Regions from separate parts of the Homo sapiens genome. Here regions 2 and 3 are each linked to region 1. The links are contacts of gene promoters, found by promoter capture Hi-C in human tissues and cell types (Jung and others, 2019). All regions are on one chromosome and are shown on one strand. The core of a region is centred on a gene start or on the middle of the fragment in contact, and the rest is flanking DNA. Distances in the headings are between cores, read along the strand shown.

What was found. The method cuts DNA at HindIII sites, captures the fragments that hold promoters and counts their contacts. A contact is called where the count stands out against the background at its distance.
Region 2: a contact is called between a fragment that was not itself captured here and the fragment with the promoter of SIDT2 in region 1, in 1 of the 25 tissues and cell types used here (liver).
Region 3: a fragment that was not itself captured here is called in contact with the fragment with the promoter of SIDT2 in region 1 in 1 of the 25 tissues and cell types used here (liver).

Annotation. Positions count from the first base shown.
Region 1 is chr11:117,177,478-117,180,013 of GRCh38, forward strand. SIDT2 (SID1 transmembrane family member 2) reads left to right here and starts at 1,266. Exons shown (of 26, transcript NM_001040455.2): 1 at 1,266-1,969. The coding sequence starts at 1,787. It also overlaps a transcript of PAFAH1B2 not described here. RefSeq lists a silencer at 1,365-1,574. The HindIII fragment of the contact is 11,732 bases long and covers 934-2,536 here.
Region 2 is chr11:117,239,999-117,242,534 of GRCh38, forward strand. The region is part of intron 4 of RNF214 (ring finger protein 214); the gene reads left to right. Among named protein-coding and RNA genes, the nearest start is that of RNF214, 8.6 kb to the left of the region's middle. The HindIII fragment of the contact is 3,395 bases long and covers 1-2,536 here.
Region 3 is chr11:117,123,510-117,126,045 of GRCh38, forward strand. It overlaps the pseudogene LOC101060089. Among named protein-coding and RNA genes, the nearest start is that of PAFAH1B2, 20 kb to the right of the region's middle. The HindIII fragment of the contact is 5,925 bases long and covers 1-2,536 here.

The sequences.
Region 1 (2,536 bases), core at 16-2,515:
TTTTTTTCTATTTTTCTATGCATGTCTATATGCATTTGGAATATATACGGTTTTATTTACTTATTTATTTTTGAGACAGAGTCTTGCTCTGTTGCAGCCCAGGCTGGAGTGCAGGAGCATGATCTCAGCTCACTGCAACCTCCGCCTGGTAGAGTTAAGCGATTCTCCTGCTTCAGCCTCCCCAGTAGCTGGGATTACAGGCACGCGTCACCACGCCCCACTAATTTTGTATTTTTATAGTAGAGATGGGGTTCACCATGTTGGCCATGGCTGGTCTCGAACTCCTGACCTCAAGTGATCTACCTGTCTTGGCCTCCCAAAGTGTTGGGATTACACGTGTGAGCCACGGCACCTGGCTCTATATACTGTTTATTTAGTGTCATATCCTGAATTCTCTGCTTACGTGTCCTGTGAAGTCTTAAGCATCATTTTTGATGCCTTCATGATAGTGCATTTAACCAATCCCTCATTATGGATATCCAAGTCATTTCCTTTTTGCTTTATATTATAAATATCACAGTGATAAGCGTAGCTGCCCAGGTATTTTTATCTGTGCTTCCTATTTCCTTAGGATAGAGTCCAGAAGTGGAATTACTGGATCAAAGGGTATAAAGCTCTCTAAGTTTCTTGAAACAGTGCCAAAATATTTTGTAGAAAAGTTTTCACCAATTTACACTGAAGGTCAGTATCTTTCAATGAGTTTTGTAACTGTCTCTGAGAGAAGAGGGGAAACAGCCCGGCAAGCTTGGAAAGCTCGGAAGGCCGTCCCTGCAGTTGTGTGGCCCCTCTAGAGGGAGGTGGGAAAGGCATGGGGATTCCTCCTGCAGTGCTGCCTCCGTTTCCCCTCCGCCGGTAGGGCCACCGTCCTGTTTCCTAATCCTTCGAGTTTTTCATTTTTTAAGATCCCCGGAGAAAAAGTGGCCCAGGGTTGGACGATGTTAGTTGTAAAGGTGGTGGTGGGGGTGGGGGAATCCTTATGTTTGAGCAAATGTAAGAGTTGTTCAGCAAGAACCCAACACTTGGAGATTGTTAACAGAAACATCTGCCTATTCCAACGTGAGTTTCAGAGATGGTGAAAATCACGGGAGAGAGTTGGGTAGGAGTTGGAGAAGGCATTGCAAGCTTTCCCCTTCAGCTAGACAGCTGCAGCCCCTTTAAGGGCAAATGCGGGACCTGGTCCTTTAAATCTGTGTCAGTTTCCCCTGACGTCAGCGGGCGGGCCAGCAGCCCTGCTGTTTATCGCCCAGCGGCGCAGCTCACTTTTCAGTGTTCGTGCGTCGGGACGGCGCGTCCGCCCGCCCTTAAAGGGCCCGCACCTCGGAAAACTCGCAGCCCAGCACGGCGTCGGGTAGCTACCACCTATCACGCCCCTCACTCTGCGACTCGCCTTCCTCCGCGGCCAGCCCCCGCCGCCGGCTCTTCCTCCCTCCCCTTTCCCGGCGTCTCCAGGCTCCCGGCAACCAGCCGCCCTCCTTCTCACGGCCCTGGCCCGGGGCTCCAGGGTCTCAGGTCGTACTCAGCCCCTCGCGAGCTGGGACCCCTTCCCGTAGCCAGCATCCCCTCCCTCCCCGCCCCCTCCCGGCCGCCCCCTCCCCTGCGGGGACCCTGGGAGCCTCTTCGGGGCTCTTGGGAGGGGACATTTCCTAATCTCAGGCCGGGGTTAAAGTTCTGGTCCTGGTGAGATGCTGGAAGCTGCGGCCGCAGCCGCAACCCGTCCCGGAGGTGTCCTGTCTCCTGTCGCCGCCGCCGCCGCCACCACCGCTGCCACTGCCGCCCTGCCGGGGCCATGTTCGCTCTGGGCTTGCCCTTCTTGGTGCTCTTGGTGGCCTCGGTCGAGAGCCATCTGGGGGTTCTGGGGCCCAAGAACGTCTCGCAGAAAGACGCCGAGTTTGAGCGCACCTACGTGGACGAGGTCAACAGCGAGCTGGTCAACATCTACACCTTCAACCATACTGTGACCCGCAACAGGGTGAGGGCTGGGGGCTTAGGGGCCAGAGGCGAGTGGGGAAGCCGACGAGGGCTAGGCGATTCTGCCGCCCCGCTACCCTTTTGGGAGGCCCCAGGAACGAGCTGTCCTGCTAGGTTCCCAGTTCCCAGAACCACACTGGAGCCTCTTGACCAGTCCTCCTTCCTTTGCCACCAATGTTTCTCTGAAGCTCCAGCTGGGCAGTTTTTGAAGTTGGCTCATTCCCATCTTCTCTTCCGCCCCCATTCTTCCATCAGTTGTGGTCTGAGCACACATGGCTTGCTCTCTACCCTAAACCCCAGAATCTGACAGCTCTGTGGGGTCTCGGTGGGAGAGGAAACAGGCTTATTACTGGGCTTGCCCAGAAAACCTCAGGGGAATGAGACTGGCCCAGAACTGAAAAGCTCTGTGCAGGCAAGTTACATCTCAGACTCCCCAGGGAGATGAATGCAGGGCTTCCCAGCCCTCTTCCTGCCTGGGAGAGCCAGCTGGCCTTGTAAATTGAGGGTGACAGAGGTTTTATAAGGCCAACTGCAAGTTGGGTGGGAAGAGAAGGGGAATTTGTCCACT
Region 2 (2,536 bases), core at 1-2,500, 63 kb after region 1:
ACTTCCAAAGATGGGAAGCTTACTACCTCACAAAGCAACCAGTTACGTTTAAAAAAAAAAATAGCTCTTATTGGCCAGGCACAGTGGCTCACACCCATAATCCTAACATTTTGGGAAGCCGAAGTGGGTGGATCGCTTGAGCCCTGGAGTTTGAGACCAGCCTGGGCAACACAGTGAAACACCATGTCTACAAAAAATACAAAAATTAGCCAGGTGTGGTGGTGCATGCCTATAGTCCTAGCTACTCAGGAGTCCTAGCTACTCAGGAGACAGGTGGGAGGATCACCTGTTCACCTGAGCCAAGGAGGTCGAGGCTGTGTGAGCCGTGATTGTGCGATTGTACTGCAGCCTGGGTGACAGAGTGAGACCCTGTCTCAAAAAAAATTAAAAAAAAAAAAAAAAAAAAAGGCCGGGCACAGTGGCTCACGCCTGTAATCCCAGCACTTTGGGAGGCCAAGGCAGGTGGATCACCTGAGGTTGAGAGTTTGAGACCAAGCTGGCCAACGTGGTGAAACCCCATCTCTACTAAAAATACAAAAATTAGCCGGGCGTGGTGGTGTGTGCCTGTAATCCCAGCTACTCGGGAGGCTGAGGCAGGAGAATGGCTTGAACCCAGGAGGCAGAGGTTGCAGTGAGCCAAGATTGCACCACTGCACCCCAGCCTGGACAACAGAGAAGCTCCATCTCAAAAAACAAAAATGAAACCTCTTATTAGATTTTGTTCTGAGATGAAGATAAAAACCTTATAACTTCTTGCTTCAGGCCGGGCGCGGTGACTCACGCCTGTAATCCTAGCACTTTCAGAGGCTGAGGCGGGTGGATCACCTGAGGTCAGGAGTTTGAGACCAGCCTGACTAACATGGTGAAACCTCGTCCCTACTAAAAATACAAAAATTTAGACCAGCCACGGTGGCTCACGTCTGTAATCCTAGCGCTTTGGGAGGCTGAGGCAGGCAGATTGCCTGAGCGCAGGAGTTCGAGACCAGCCTGGGCAACATGGCGAAACCCCATCTCTACTAAAAATACAAAAAATTAGCCAGGTGTGGTGGCGTGTGCCTGTAATCCCAGCTACTTGGGTGGCTGAGGCATGAGATTAGCTTGAACCTGGGAGGCAGAGATTGCAGTGACCCGAGATCGTACCACTGCACTCCAGCCTGGGTGACAGAGTGAGACTCTCTCAAAAACAAACAAACAACAACAAAAAAACAAAAATTAGCCTGTAATCCCAGCTACTTGGGAGGTTGAGGTAGAAGAATTGCTTGAACCCAGGAGGCTGAGGTGGCAGTGAGCTTCTTGCTTTAGGCCGGGCACAGTGGCTCATGCTTGTAATCCTAGCACTTTGGGAGGCCGAGGCGGGTAGATCACGAGGTCAAGAGATTGAGCCCATCCTGGCCAATATGGTGAAACCCCATCTCTACTAAAAATACAAAAATTAGCTGGGTGTGGTGGCGCATGCCTCTAGTCCTAGCTACTCAGGAGGGTGAGGCAGGAGAATTGCTTGAACCCGGGAGGTAGAGGTTGCAGTAAGCTGAGATTGCACCACTGCACTCCAGCCTGGTGACAGAGTGAGAATCTGTCTCAAAAAAAAAAAAAAAAAGTTCTTATTGTAGCTTTCTCTTGAGCTTTATGGAATAAATCCAGTTCCTTTCCTGCTTGTTAGCCATGTGTATATTTGAAGTTTTTTTATGCCTCCTGCTCTTATTCTCTTACTCCCCAAGTTCAAACCTTTCCAGGTGAAACATCCTCAGATGTTTTTAGTATTCTTTTTGATACTATTTTGATACTATTTTCCATTTCTTTATCATCATTCTGGTTACTTTCACTTAGACATGTTCTATTTTATCAATATTTGTTTTAAAAAGTGATCTTGAGAACCATATATAATAGTACAGATACAGTATAATTACTTTATAATACAGTGGGATCTCTCAGTATCTCTCATTCTAGACACTATTTCTTAAGCTTACATTGACTTATTTTGGCAGTTTTTTCATACTGTTAAGCTTTTAGTCAAATTCCATCCAGTCTTTTTTTCATGTATTATTTACTTGTGTCTTTTTAATTTTATCCCCAGATAGTTGGCTTTTGAAGAGAACGTCACACTTACCTTTGTTAAAATGCTCCCTTTGATCCATCCCTGGCCTTTTGTGGCTAAAACTTCCACCTTTAAGTATATGGATATCTAAATGTACACTTTTTAAAGGGAAGGTAATGCTGGGAAAGGCACCCCAGGAAGAGGTCTTTAGGGTAAGATATGTTAATTTATAAAGAGTGGTATAAAAAGGGAAAGTGCTTGTAGCAACCAGATAAGAGAGTGGATATTTGGTGCAAGTTGAAGAAATTGAAGGGCATACGGAAAAAAGTTACTGGTGTACATTAACCAGATGAAGCCAAGAAAAGTTTTAAAATAGAGACTAGCAACTTGGGACTTAATTGTAACAGTCAAGTAGATGAAACAGGAACGAATGGAAACCCAGCAAGTTACTGGGCCAGAAGAGGCCCAGGGTTGAGTTTTGTTTGGCTCTATCTTTTGGGT
Region 3 (2,536 bases), core at 22-2,521, 54 kb before region 1:
CTGAATACATGAATTGGTGGCTGATAAGGAGGGATGTTAGGTAGCTAAGAGACTGAAAGCAAGAGAGGAGGAACCCAGGATGTCAATTAAAAACAATAAAATCATGGCCGGGCGCGGTAGCTCACACTTGTAACCCCAGCAGTTTGGGGGGCAGAGGCAGGTGGATCACCTGAGGTCAGGAGTTCAAGACCAGCCTGGCCAACATGGTGAAATCCTGTCTCTACTAAAAAATACAAAAAAAATTAGCTGGGTGTGGTGGTGTGTCTGTAATCCCAGCTACTTGAGAGGCTGAGGCAGGAGAATTGCCTGAACCCAAGAGGTGGAGGTTGCAGTGAGCCGAGATGGCAGCACTGCACTGCAGCCTGGTGACACAGTGAGACTCCATCTCAAATAATAATAATAATAATGAGGATGATAATAAATAAAAATAATAAAACCAGAACATTTTATACCTGAAAAGGTTCTGGATCATGTTTTGCAATCCCTTTACGTTGCAGATGAGAAAACAGCCTCAGAGAGATGAAACTACCAGTCTGAAGGCTGCAGATATTAAAGGACTTCTCTGAGCTCACACAAAAAAGAGCAGAGTTGGAATCTGAAGTTATATCAGCTAACTTTCTCTTTATGAATTCAGCACTCTTACCTTTATACTGTTTCCTTCCAGAAGGAAGTGGGAAAAAAATGCCTAGAAACCAGATGATCAAAGCAGCAACAAGGAATCCTCTCCTTTTTTTGACTATGACAGGCTAAAGATCTGGGAGTCAAGGCAAAAAAAAGAAGGGGCAACAAGGCCTTAGTCAGCTGAGGTGGCCAAAACAAAATACAACAGACGGGGGGACTTAAACAACAGGAATTTATTTCTCACAGTTCTGGAAGCTGGGATGTCCAAGGTCATGGTTCTGGCCAATTCAGTTACCTGGTGAGGGCCTTCTTGCTGACTTGCAGATGGCCCTCAACAGGCATCTTGCTGTATCTTCACATGGCAGAGAAAAAGAGCTCTTGTTTCTCCTCTTCTTCTTATAAGGACACTAATCACATCATAAAGGCCCCACTCTCAAGACCTCATCTAAACCTAAGTACCTCTCCAAGAAAAGCCCCATCTCCTTATACCATTACATTGAGGGTTAAGGCTTCAATATATGAATTTTGGGTGGCATGGGATGTCACAAATATTTAGACCATAAGACAATCTCAGGTACAAGCAGGAAAAGGCACCACATACAAGAGGGCAAGTTGAAAAAGGAAAGAATGAGGATGAAATAAAAATGAATTGGCTGGGCGCAGTGGCTTATGCCTGTAATCCCAGCACTTTGGGAGGCCACGGCAGGTGGATCACCTGAGGTCAGGAGTTCGAGAGCAGCCTGGCCAAAATGGCAAAACCCCGTCTCCACTAAAAATATAAAAATTGGCTGGGCATGGTGGTGGGCACCTATAATCCCAGCTACTGGGGAGGCTGAGGCAGGAGAATTGTTGAACCCAGGAGGTAGAGGTTGCAATGAGCAGAGATCATGCCATTGCTCTCCAGCCTGGGCAGCAGAGTGAGACTCCGTCTTAAAAAAAAAAAAAAGAAAAGAAATAAAAATGAATTGTTCTCAGTCGTCTTTCACATTTCCTGCTGAGATCTGGGAGATGAGGAGGGAAGAGAGGGAAGGTAGCAGCTAGCTTTAGAGTATAAGCATTATAGCTGGTTCCTGAAGCTGACAGCAGTGGAGTAATGGAAAGAGACCTGAACATTGAGTGAGTTAATGGTGATTCAAGGCTCAGCTCCGCAACCAAGTGGTTGGTGACCTTGGACAGCTTGAATGATCTCATCTGCAAGGTGAAGATAATAATAACCTAACTAATAAAGTTGTTATAAAAACTAAATGAGACAATACTTACAAAAGTACTTTTTAAATTATAAAGGGTTACTTAGGTTTGTTTTGCTTCACGGTAGGATAGTTCTGGGGCTACACTAATGTTACAGATATAAAAGAAGTGGAAAACATGGCCTCGGATCTCAAGTGTCTTATGATCCTATAGGATAAATAAAGTTTACAAACATGAAAAACCTTTAAGATAGCACATGGCTGCACAGGGTTGGATCAGAGCTCTCATCTTGTCTGTTGAAGATGACTCAGGTATGGCTAGGTGTGTCTGGCTAGCTGGTGGGATGGGTCTAAGGAAGTTTATTGGCAGGAAGGCTGGGCACTTCATTTGAGAGTCTTCCTTCTAGAGAAATAAGGAGCCAAGCATGATAGCCTTTTTCAAGAGCCAGTGCCTTGGTCATCAGAATGAGGTGTGGTCATTGTTACTCAAACGCAACTCTAGTTCGACCCCTTAGCTGAAAATCCAGGGCACGTGGAAAAGACAAGTCTCGTCTAGACATTGAAAGAGCTGTTTCTTGGATCAGGTGCTGTGGCTCACGCCTGTAATCCCAGCACTTTGGGAGGCCAAGGCAGGCGGATCTCTTGATATCAGTAGTTCAAGACCAGCCTGGCCAACACGGTGAAACATCATCTCTACTAAAAATACAAAAATTAGCTGGGCATGGTGG